Regions from separate parts of the Homo sapiens genome. Here all the other regions are linked to region 1. The links are contacts of gene promoters, found by promoter capture Hi-C in blood cells and fetal thymus (Javierre and others, 2016). All regions are on one chromosome and are shown on one strand. Each heading gives the region's core, a stretch centred on a gene start or on the middle of the fragment in contact. The rest is flanking DNA. Distances are from core to core; before and after follow the strand shown.

Region 1 (2,700 bases), core at 173-2,672:
TTTCCCAACAGCGTGCAATGGTTCCAGCTCCTCTATATCCTCACCAATACTAGTTGTCTTTTTTTTTTTTTGATAGTAGCCATCCTGAGTGGTGTGAAGTGATGTCTCATGGCTTTGATCTGCATTTCCCTTATGGCTAGTGACTTTGAGCATTTTTTCATATACCTGATGGCCGTTTGTACGTCTACTTTAGAGAAATGTCTATAGAAATCCTTAGCCCATTTTTAAATTAAAAAAAATTATTTTTTACAGTTGAGTTGTAGGACTTCCTTATATATTTTGGAGGCTAACCCTTTATCAGATATATGATTTACAATTCTTTCTCCCATTCAGTAGGTTGTATTTTCACTCTGTTGTTTCTTTTGCTGTGCAAAAGCTTTTTAGTAAGACTAAACTTCTGATCTTTGCTAACTTAAATAAGTAAAAAATAAGTAATTTAATAAGCATTTTTGAATTATGAATGGTGTAAGCATGTAAACACACCAGTAACAGTAAAATCCATTAAAAAACACAACACTTATTTAGTGCTTACCATGTACTCTGTGCTAGACACTATTTTACGTGATTTACAGGTATGGATTTTTTTAAAACTTAAATCCATTAGCTAGGTGCTATTGTCACTCCATTGTGCATAAGCAGAATTTGAGGCACAGAGAGGTCAAGTCACCAGCCCAAGTTCACACAGCTAATAAATGATAGAACCAGAATCTGAACCCAGGCAGGCTGGATCCAAAATTCATTGTCTTAAACCTCTACTATGCTGCATTAAAGGATTTTGTAATAGGTCTTGGTATGAGGTAAATAAGGGGAAATTTCCTGCCTTAGCATGTAGATAAAGAAACTCTAGGATCAGGGAACAAAGGGGAGGGGAAATGAAGATAACTTTTTCAGTATTTAGTCTCTGATGACCTTAAGACCTGGGATAAGAATAAAGCAAACTAGGCAGGGCGCTGTGGCTCACTCCTGTAATCCCAGCACTTTGGGAGGCCGAGGTGGGTGGATCACCTGAGGTCAGGAGTCGGAGACCAGCCTGGCTAACATGGTGAAACTCCATCTCTGCTAAAAATACAAAAAATTAGCCGGACGTGGTGGCGTACGCCTGTAATCCCAGCTATTCAGGAGGCGGAGGCAGGAGAATCTCTTGAATCCAGGAGACGGAGGTTGCAGTGAGCCAAGATCAGACCACTGCTCTCCAGCTTGGGCAACAAGAGCAAAACTCCATCTAAAAAGAAAAGAAAAACAAAAAAAGAATAAAGCAGAATAATAATTTAAAAATACTTAAAATCAAACCAAAGTTTCCCAAGTAACTAGATTTTAAAATCCTATTTAATAGAAAAGAAAACGGTGACTTTTTTTTTTTTTTCAAAGCCTTCTGAGGTGGACTTTTGAAATGATAAAGGTGTTTTGGGTTATCCTTCCTCAGACTCTGTTTTCACCCAGCATGTCTGAGAGCCTTGCAGGCACAGTGGTATCAGGACACACTGCTGGTCGTGGTTTGCAGATGTTTTCCTGGCGTAATTCACATCAGGATGCAGTGTGTGGGCAGCTCCTGTTTCCTTAGGTGTCTTCAGAATTTTTCCTCTGCAGCTGGAGCAGGTGGTTGCAGATTAGACTCACACCCTGTGGACCGCCCAGTGCCTCTGCTTCTGTCTCACTCAGAGATGCGTCAGAACGGTCAGACTCAGAGATGCGTCTGCACCGTGGCACCAAGTGATGCTGTTCTGAACCCAGTGTTTCCCCTCTGCCTGAAGAGAGATTACAGCTCAAAATCTTTTAATCCTCAAGAGAGAAGAGGTGGCCCCTGTGAAGGAAGGAGGGCTGCAGGACTACCTCTGTCTTCTCTCTTCATCTCTGATACCTCCCTTCATGCAACTTGGAATATATGTTTATTTTCAGGGGCCAGAAACTCTTTTTAAAGAGGAGCAAGAGGGCCGGGCACGGTGGCTCATGCCTGTAATCCCAGCACTTTGGGAGGCTGAGGTGGGTGGATCACGAGGTCAGGAGTTCAAGACCAGTCTGGCCAACATGGTGAAACCCCATCTCTACTAAAAATACAAAAATTAGCTGGGTGTGGTGGCGGGTGCCTGTAATCCCAGCTACTAAGGAGGCTGAGGCAGGAGAATCGTTTGAACCCGGGAGGTGGAGGTCGTAGTGAGCCGAGATCATGCCATTGCATTGCATTGCACTGCAGCCTGGGTAATAGGGCGAGACTCTGTCTCAAAAAAAAAAAAAAAAGGGAGGAAGAGGAGGCTCATCTGATCATCTGCAATGTCAAGGATGGGCTCCTTCCCACCTACACAGCTGAGTACATCCCAGACACCTGCCTCATGCCTTCCACCTACTGCCTGTTCCTTTGAGACCAAAGAAAATCAGAAGAGCCCTCTGCTGTACGAAGGACTAGGCAGTGTCTATGTCATTATGCAAAATGGACCATGCAGAGCCCAAGCCAGAGACACATATCAAGCTTTGGAGAGGTGTGTCAGGACGCAAAGGATGCAAAGCTTCAGCTGTGATGCTTAAGAATTAACAAGTGTCATATGTTCTGAGACAGAAGGAACCATGATTTTAGCCAATGGGATAAAATCCTGCCAGAGGATAGGGTCAAGAGAGGGTTCCTATTTAGCAAATCAAAGGGAAGAATTTTAATGCTTCAATTCTCTGGATTATAGTGATGCTATGTGTTGAGGCGGAAGATAGGAA
Region 2 (2,700 bases), core at 132-2,631, 270 kb after region 1:
ATATTATATATATATTTATACATACTATTAAATACAAACATATATGAAGAATATATATTATATATTCATAAATATGTAAATATATATATTCCTATATTACCTATATATAAGGTTCTCTATCTACCCATCTATATATGTATAATATATATATATATTCCTAAGGTCCTTTGGCAGAATATATATATTCCCCCAAACCTGTGTGTGTGTGAGTGTATATATATATATACATATACATCAAAAGAAAATTATGGGCCTAGAAGAATTAAAATCACCCAAGGTCAGACATAATGTGTGTGTATGTGTGCGTGTGTGTGTGTATATATATATATATATATATATATACACACACACACGCACACATACACACACATACATACACACACATATATGTGTGTGTATGTGTGTATATTTATATATAGTGTGCATATTTATATATAGTGTGTATATTTATATATAGTGTGTATATACGTGTGTGTGTATACTATATATAGTATATATATGTATATATATAATATATATTATATATATATATATATATTATATATATATAGCAAGGACACTGGGTCCTTTACCTTAGGTTGGCAAGTAAACCTTAGAAATAGAGGAGATGACTCAATGTGATTGTTAAAGCCAGAGAGACAGGAAGGAAAAGTCAGAAGGAAAATCAGCCCCTCAGAGCAGAGAGCGGAGGGACCTGAACCTTTTAGTATAGCTGATCTCTGTAGCCAATTTCCCCTAAAGGCCCTGAAACTGAGTTTTGGAGTGTTGTTTCTCAAGAAAAAGAAGCATCGATAATTCATGACTTAGATGTCCACCTTAAAACAATTCTGCTTTCCCCAGTAGAACATCTAGAAAATGGGTCATGATTCATTGTATGGAAGGTGGCAAGGAATATATCCTAATAGTATTTGTTTTCATGCCACTGGTCACCTGTTTCACATTCAAACCTTCATTGCTCACTTGATCTATAACAAACATGCCATGAGATTAAAGCACAGCTTTCTCCTCCTGAGTCACCAAAAGAAAATTACGGGCCTAGAAGAATTAAAATCACCCAAGGTCAGACATAATGTATTAAGGAAAATGAGGCTGCAGCACATGGTACCTGCAGGCAGATGTCACATGGCAGCTCAAGGAGGAAGCTGCAGCAAGAGGCACACAAGAGGTTGTTCAAGAAGAGCTGACCTGAAGAATCCTAACACACCAGGGGAAGGAAATAATGCTTTTCTCCATGTTGACAAATTTAAGCAGAAAAACAAACTTGCCTAATTTGATAATTGCCTGCTCATCAGAACAAACAATGACAAGGAAAGAGTGCTGCATCCGATGACATCAGCCCTGAGCAGGGTATAAAAGAGGATCTGGGGCAAGGAGACTTCCAAGCCTTCCAAACCCTCCTTCCTGGAAACCCACCCAGAACCTCCACCCTCTGACACCATGGTCAACTCCTGTTGTGGCTCTGTGTGCTCTGACCAGGGCTGTGGCCTAGAGAACTGCTGCCGTCCCAGCTACTGCCAGACCACCTGCTGCAGGACCACCTGCTGCCGCCCCAGCTGCTGTGTGTCCAGCTGCTGCAGACCCCAGTGCTGCCAGACCACCTGCTGCAGGACCACCTGCTGCCACCCCAGCTGCTGTGTGTCCAGCTGCTGCAGACCCCAGTGCTGCCAGTCTGTGTGCTGCCAGCCCACCTGCTGCAGACCCCAATGCTGCCAGACTACCTGCTGTAGGACCACCTGCTGCCGCCCCAGCTGCTGCAGGCCCCAGTGCTGCCAGTCTGTGTGCTGCCAGCCCACCTGCTGCTGCCCCAGCTACTGTGTGTCCAGCTGCTGCAGACCCCAGTGCTGCCAGACCACCTGCTGCAGAACCACCTGCTGCCGCCCCAGCTGCTGTGTGTCCAGGTGCTACAGGCCCCATTGTGGCCAGTCTCTATGCTGCTAGCCCATCTGCTGGCAAACCACCTGCTACAGGACCACCTGCTGCCACCCCAGCTATTGCATTTCCAGCTGCTGCCAGCCTTCCTGCAGTATCTCTAGCAGCAGTAGCTCCTCCTGCTGTGGCTTCAGCTGCTGCAGGCTCTCCTGCTGCATCTCCAGTTGCTGCCGCCCCAACTGCTGCCAGACCATGTGCTGCCGCCCAACCTGCTCTAGTGCTTCTTGCTGCTGAGGCTGTCATCTGGACTCACCAGATTCTCATCAACCAGCATTCTTGATGTAGCTCATCTATGAGCTGAGTTATGGGAAGCTAGTTGGAAAACTTCAGTTCCAACCAATTCTTAGATTGAATCTGGCCTCCAAATATATGCTCCCCCCACATTTTACCTCTCTACCAAATGAACATAAGTTGTAATTTGCTCTGAAATCTGTCAACTATCTTAATTGAAATATTTGCTCTCTGCCATAATTTCTCATATGGAGCTATTCCATTTTAAACAAATATTTATCTAAATAAATCTTAAATAAATTTTCAGGCATAGAAATATACAGATACTGTGTCTCATTATTTTTCTTTTTTGAGTGTGGTCAATTACCAGTCAATTTTTCTGTTGTTCTTCTCTGCAGAATGTAATTTCAGGGGCACCACCTCTATTTCCTCAGCACACTTTATTCTAATATACAATGGTGGTTTCTTAGAGCAAGCACCTGGAACTCTCTTCTTGAAGAGTTTCTCTAGCCAAGGAGCAAGCTCTGGACTGTAGAGTTA
Region 3 (2,880 bases), core at 138-2,637, 290 kb after region 1:
GAGGATAACCTTGCTTTGTGTGAGGCCAAGAAAGATATTGGAGAAAAATGGCATTTGAACTAACTGGTAATGAATAACTAGAAGAATGCTAAGTGAAGGAAATAAAAACATTTCACCCCAAGATATATCTCACTGACATCCTTTAGCTAGTGAACTAGCATTCTAAAGTGCCATCTTAAATTTTAAAATTTGCCATAGGGTTTTGAAAGGGAAACTTGGCATGGGAGACATGCAGGGGTGGTGCAGGGTGCTGAGTCTGCATGTCTTGTTCCAATGGCTATCTTGGGTGTCCAGAGGTTTGGGAGGCATTATTTTGACTTCAGCCCAATGGTGGTGGATTAATTGTTCAAGATTCCCCCTAAGTGAGAGGATTCCTCAGGGCTCTGTGCCTGGTTTGTTTCAAGATTAGCCTCTGGAATTTCTTAAGCAAGAATATAATTAGATAAGATATTAGATAGTATTGCCAGAAGGGAGTGTGCAGAGGGAAGGAATGAAGAGGTGAGAGGGGAGGAAAGGAAGAGAAAGTGGGTGATTTTTAAAATTGAGGTCCACAGTTACATAAGTACCTGTAAGTTAAAGAATATATCTTTTATATTCCTCTCAATGCTTCTTAAAAAATCTTAGAAATAAGTGATACTAAAAAAAAACCCTGCTAGATGTTTTAGCTCAAAATGTATGAAAAAGATTTTAACAAAATGTCAATAAAGCATAACCATTACACATTTGATATTTCAAAAGGCAGATCAAAAACTATGATCCACATTACTCTACTTCAGCCTGTAGGACACTTTTGAAGACAGACGCAGCTCAAGCCCAGATGATGCTTTGTTCCTTAGAAACAGTGAGTCACTACTAACTGTTTCAAGGTGCACCAGAGTGATGAGAATTAACACAGCTTGCAATGACCTAGGAATTTAGTTAGCTCAATGGCCACCCAGAATACATACAATGAATCATAAGCTTCCTTATTTCTCACACTCAAAAACAGGAGCATATTTTCTTTTTTTCCTGTCAGCATTCCAGCTGATTGACACATGCATTTCTCCACTAGAGATCTTAGCCCAATCAGAAGCTCTCCCAAAACGATATCATGATGAGAAACAGACAAGTGACAGTGGCCCTCCCATGTCACATGATACCCAGAGACTGAAGTCATGTGACACTGAAACCAAGGAAAGGAAAACAAGAGGTGACTCATGTGGGAACACCAGGGTGAGAAAAGGGAAATAATCATTTTCTATATATTGGGATTTTTTACTAGAAAAACACAATATAATTTAGTAATTGCATTTGTGTCATATAAACAAAAACAAGGAAACAATCTTCTCATAATCACAAAGGCTCCTCAGCTGGGTATAAAAGGGGACATGCAGCAAGGAGACTCCCAAACTCACGAAACTCACTCTCTTGGAAACCCACCCAGAACCTTTACCCTCTGACACCATGGTCAGCTCCTGTTGTGGTTCCGTCTGCTCTGACCAGGGCTGTGGCCTGGAGACCTGCTGCCGCCCCAGCTGCTGTCAGACCACCTGCTGCAGGACCACCTGCTGCCGCCCCAGCTGCTGTGTGTCCAGCTGCTGCAGACCCCAGTGCTGCCAGTCTGTGTGCTGCCAGCCCACCTGCTGCCGTCCCAGCTGCTGTCCCAGCTGCTGTCAGACCACCTGCTGCAGGACCACCTGCTGCCGCCCTAGCTGCTGTGTATCCAGCTGCTGCAGACCCCAGTGCTGCCAGTCTGTGTGCTGCCAGCCCACTTGCTGCCGTCCCAGCTGCAGCATCTCCAGCTGCTGTCGCCCCAGCTGCTGTGTGTCCAGGTGCTGCAGGTCCCAGTGCTGCCAGTCTGTGTGCTGCCAGCCAACCTGCTGCCGTCCCAGCTGCTGCATCTCCAGCTGCTGCCGCCCCTCTTGCTGTGAATCCAGCTGCTGCCGCCCGTGCTGCTGCCGCCCCTGCTGCTGCCTGCGTCCAGTCTGTGGCCGAGTCTCCTGCCACACCACTTGCTATCGCCCAACCTGTGTCATTTCCACCTGCCCCCGTCCCTTGTGCTGTGCCTCCTCTTGCTGCTGAGCTCCTTGCCTGAAACTATCTCCTCCCCTTCAGCTCACTCCTCACAGAAGCAGACCTTGTGCATCTCATAAACAACTCAGAAGAGGCCATTCCCACCAACTGTGTTTCCATATCCTGGACATATATCTAGGATATATGTCCTGGCTATACATCTAGAATATATGTTCCCCATGTTGACCCAAGTGTGAAATTAGATATTATTTACAGAAAGAAATTAATAGAATTTACCAAATTTTATACCTTATATTTGTATTTATGGATACCAAGTTCTTCTGTCCCAAACATGGAAATTCTTGCAGGGTAACTCGGGGCAAGGTTGTCTCACTCTCAGATTTGAAAGTCTGATTGTTTCACCCTGTATTTCCTTTTACAGCAATGTTTCTGTATCTTATTTTTGCTGCTTCTGAATAAAACTCCACTTTTGTCGCATAGAAATACAATGTTCTTTTTGTGTTGCTTTGTAATGATTGTCCTTAGTTCCTGAGAAATTCCACCCAAAACACAACTGAACGAATCCTATTCTTGCTCTCACCTTCAAGAAAATTGCAACATGTAATGACCTAAAAAAAAGGCAATACATGGATGTTTCCAAAAGTATTGAAAAAAATAAAGATTTTAAGTTAAGTTTTTTTATGAATATGGAGAAGGGTTATATCCCACAGCTAAATTTTCTTAAATATTTTTGAAAGTGTATCTTTCCCTACAATCTCACTCCTCTCTTATTTGCTTTATTTTTCCGTTTCCCTCCTCCACCCATGGCCCCCGATCCTGTCATCTTGTTCTGCCCTTATCTCTTTTATCCCATTCTTGTAAAACCAG
Region 4 (2,719 bases), core at 49-2,548, 310 kb after region 1:
GAGTGAGAACATACCTTGCATCTTTTTAATTATAAATAATTGTTTTTAAATATCAGGAGGGATTTAATTGCAAAATGTTCATGCGCAAAATGTTCCTTGAACACTCTAGGAGAGACGCCCTTTCCCTGTTACAGACTGTGTGACTTCAATCTATCTGGGCCTCAAGTACCTTGGATGTAAAGAATTTAGAAAAATTGTGTCTACATAGCAGAATCCTTGTGAAGTATAAACAAGATAACAATTATAGAGGACTCAGAAAATTCCTGACACATAGTAAGCACTCAAAAAATTATAACTATTAGTATTGTTTCATCTTTCATTGGAAGTGTACAGATTAAATACATAATTGTTATTTTGTTCACTAATCACACCATTCTCTAAATAGTTGCTAAATTCTTTCCTATACATGTTTCTTATTTGTCTTGTTTAAGCTTCTGTAGGACAGAAATTAAACTTGATCCTTTGTTTCTTTTCTCCATGTATCAAGCAAAATATCTCCAACATACATTGTGAGAAAAAGCAGCTTTCGAGTATGAGAAAATCTACTTTCAATAACACTTCAGTTAAACACATTCAGTGGGTATCTTGACTTACCAACAAAATAGAACAAAAATGTTCCTTATGATCCCCATCTCTGAAGAACATGCCAACAATAATTTATAAAGGGACCTATCATGCCAATGTATTTTTACTTGTAAAGCAATGAATCATTGCATTATATCTGTTTCAAGCTAAATAGAGTCAATAACATGAAACAGGAATTTCAGTGGGATCTTTTATATCTCACTGACCAGCCACAAAATTCAAAGGAATCACAGTGTTCCTTATTATACACAAGTTACCTCCTATCACCCCCCAAAGATGAATCTTTCATCACATTTTCCTACCAGCATTCTATGTAATTTATTTTTAACCTCTTTGAGAGCAGAGGAGATTTAGTCATCATAAAATCTATTTTCAACTTATTATCCAGGAGTCAAATAAATAAAGAATTAACTTATGAAATCCAATCAAACAATGTCATGTAATGGGTCTACACATCAGAAGACACATCAGATGAAGGAAGGAGAATGAGAGCTGATTCACTTGGCTTAACCAAATTGGATAGCTCAGAATACAACAGGAAAAGGAAATGTTGCCTTTTCTATTTATAGAAATATTTACCAGATAAGGACAACTATCTAATTTACTAAAAAACAACTGATTCTCTATTAGTAATGTGCAAACCACAAGATTATTCACATTGTCATAGTGGTTCTCAGCAGGGTATAAAAAGCAAAAGAGAGAACAAGGAGAGATCAAACTCAGAACACTCACTCTCCTGGAAACCCACCGAGAACCTCCACCCTCTGACACCATGGTCAACTCCTGTTGTGGCTCTGTGTGCTCTGACCAGGGCTGTGGCCTGGAGAACTGCTGCCGCCCCAGCTGCTGCCAGACCACCTGCTGCAGGACCACCTGCTGCCGCCCCAGCTGCTGTGTGTCCAGCTGCTGCAGGCCCCAGTGCTGCCAGTCTGTGTGCTGTCAGCCCACCTGCTGCCGCCCCAGCTGCTGTCAGACCACCTGCTGTAGGACCACCTGCTGCCGCCCCAGCTGCTGTGTGTCCAGCTGCTGCAGACCCCAGTGCTGCCAGTCTGTGTGCTGCCAGCCCACCTGCTGCCGCCCCAGCTGCTGTCAGACCACCTGCTGCAGGACCACTTGCTGCCGCCCCAGCTGCTGTGTGTCCAGCTGCTGCAGACCCCAGTGCTGCCAGTCTGTGTGCTGCCAGCCCACCTGCTGCCGCCCCAGCTGCTGCATCTCCAGCAGCTGCTGCCCCTCTTGCTGTGAATCCAGCTGCTGCCGCCCCTGCTGCTGCCTGCGTCCAGTCTGTGGCCGAGTCTCCTGCCACACCACTTGCTATCGCCCAACCTGTGTCATCTCCACCTGCCCCCGCCCCTTGTGCTGTGCCTCCTCTTGCTGCTAAATCTCTGCTGTGAACACACCACTTCCTTATTACGTCCTTTCCTACAGATGAAGGCTCTCATTGCAAACATGCGGACTGTTCAAGAGAATTGATCTGGGTCCCATAAGCAAACCTCATCCTTAGAAATTCTGTATTTGCATTCTACCTTTTGTCCAAACTCCCTTCCTTCCAAAGGAATTCATTGACAATCTCCTAATAAATTGACAAATTGTCCTCCAACATCCTCCCACCTCTTTGACTTCAGGACATTTATTCATCATGCCTAAGGAATTTGAAGATTGCCTCCATCATTTGTAGGGCCACAGATCTTAAAGCCTCCAACCTTGAAGTCCAGTGAAGTCTCTCTCTTAAAGTCTTTTGCAAACATTTTTGTACCTTGTTATTTCCATGTACCAAAATAAACCTCTATTCTATTGGCACTGAAAATTGAATATGATTCTTATTCTCTTTTTAAAAAGGGTTTTATATTTAGGTCCTGGGTGATTACATTTAACTACACCTGTAGGGCTCACAGCACAGATTAGTCAACCTTCTAACAGAGGTCAACTGACATCGATCACTGCCTAGTTTTTTTCTAGAAAAGTCTTTTCAGGCTTAGGCAAATCAATTAGTCATTTTGTATTCTTTAGACAAAAAGAGTGAAGCTGAAGTCATGAAATATCCATGAATATAACAACAGGGGAAACGTTTTGAAAGATTGATCACAACTCATCATCTTTTAAAAAATAATTTCAACTTTTATTTTAGAATCAAAGA

The links. Contacts are between HindIII fragments. The CHiCAGO score rates a contact against its expected background, and 5 or more counts as called.
Region 2: the fragment with the promoter of KRTAP4-4 here is called in contact with a fragment that was not itself captured in region 1 in 1 of 17 cell types (total CD8 T cells); the score reaches 7.2 in total CD8 T cells.
Region 3: the fragment with the promoter of KRTAP4-6 here is called in contact with a fragment that was not itself captured in region 1 in 5 of 17 cell types (non-activated CD4 T cells, activated CD4 T cells, total CD8 T cells and 2 more); the score reaches 6.9 in non-activated CD4 T cells.
Region 4: the fragment with the promoter of KRTAP4-12 here is called in contact with a fragment that was not itself captured in region 1 in 6 of 17 cell types (activated CD4 T cells, naive CD8 T cells, naive CD4 T cells and 3 more); the score reaches 7.7 in activated CD4 T cells.

The regions. Positions count from the first base shown.
Region 1 is chr17:41,428,842-41,431,541 of GRCh38, reverse strand. No RefSeq gene overlaps it. Among named protein-coding and RNA genes, the nearest start is that of KRT37, 5.6 kb to the right of the region's middle. The HindIII fragment of the contact is 2,088 bases long and covers 379-2,466 here.
Region 2 is chr17:41,159,429-41,162,128 of GRCh38, reverse strand. It overlaps KRTAP4-4 (keratin associated protein 4-4), which reads left to right and starts at 1,381. Exons shown (of 1, transcript NM_032524.2): 1 at 1,381-2,480. The coding sequence starts at 1,438. The coding sequence ends at 1,938. The HindIII fragment of the contact is 13,067 bases long and covers 1-2,700 here.
Region 3 is chr17:41,139,051-41,141,930 of GRCh38, reverse strand. It overlaps KRTAP4-6 (keratin associated protein 4-6), which reads left to right and starts at 1,387. Exons shown (of 1, transcript NM_030976.2): 1 at 1,387-2,498. The coding sequence starts at 1,444. The coding sequence ends at 2,061. RefSeq lists an enhancer at 1,743-2,255. The HindIII fragment of the contact is 3,012 bases long and covers 963-2,880 here.
Region 4 is chr17:41,122,761-41,125,479 of GRCh38, reverse strand. It overlaps KRTAP4-12 (keratin associated protein 4-12), which reads left to right and starts at 1,298. Exons shown (of 1, transcript NM_031854.3): 1 at 1,298-2,389. The coding sequence starts at 1,358. The coding sequence ends at 1,963. RefSeq lists an enhancer at 1,618-2,171. The HindIII fragment of the contact is 5,176 bases long and covers 434-2,719 here.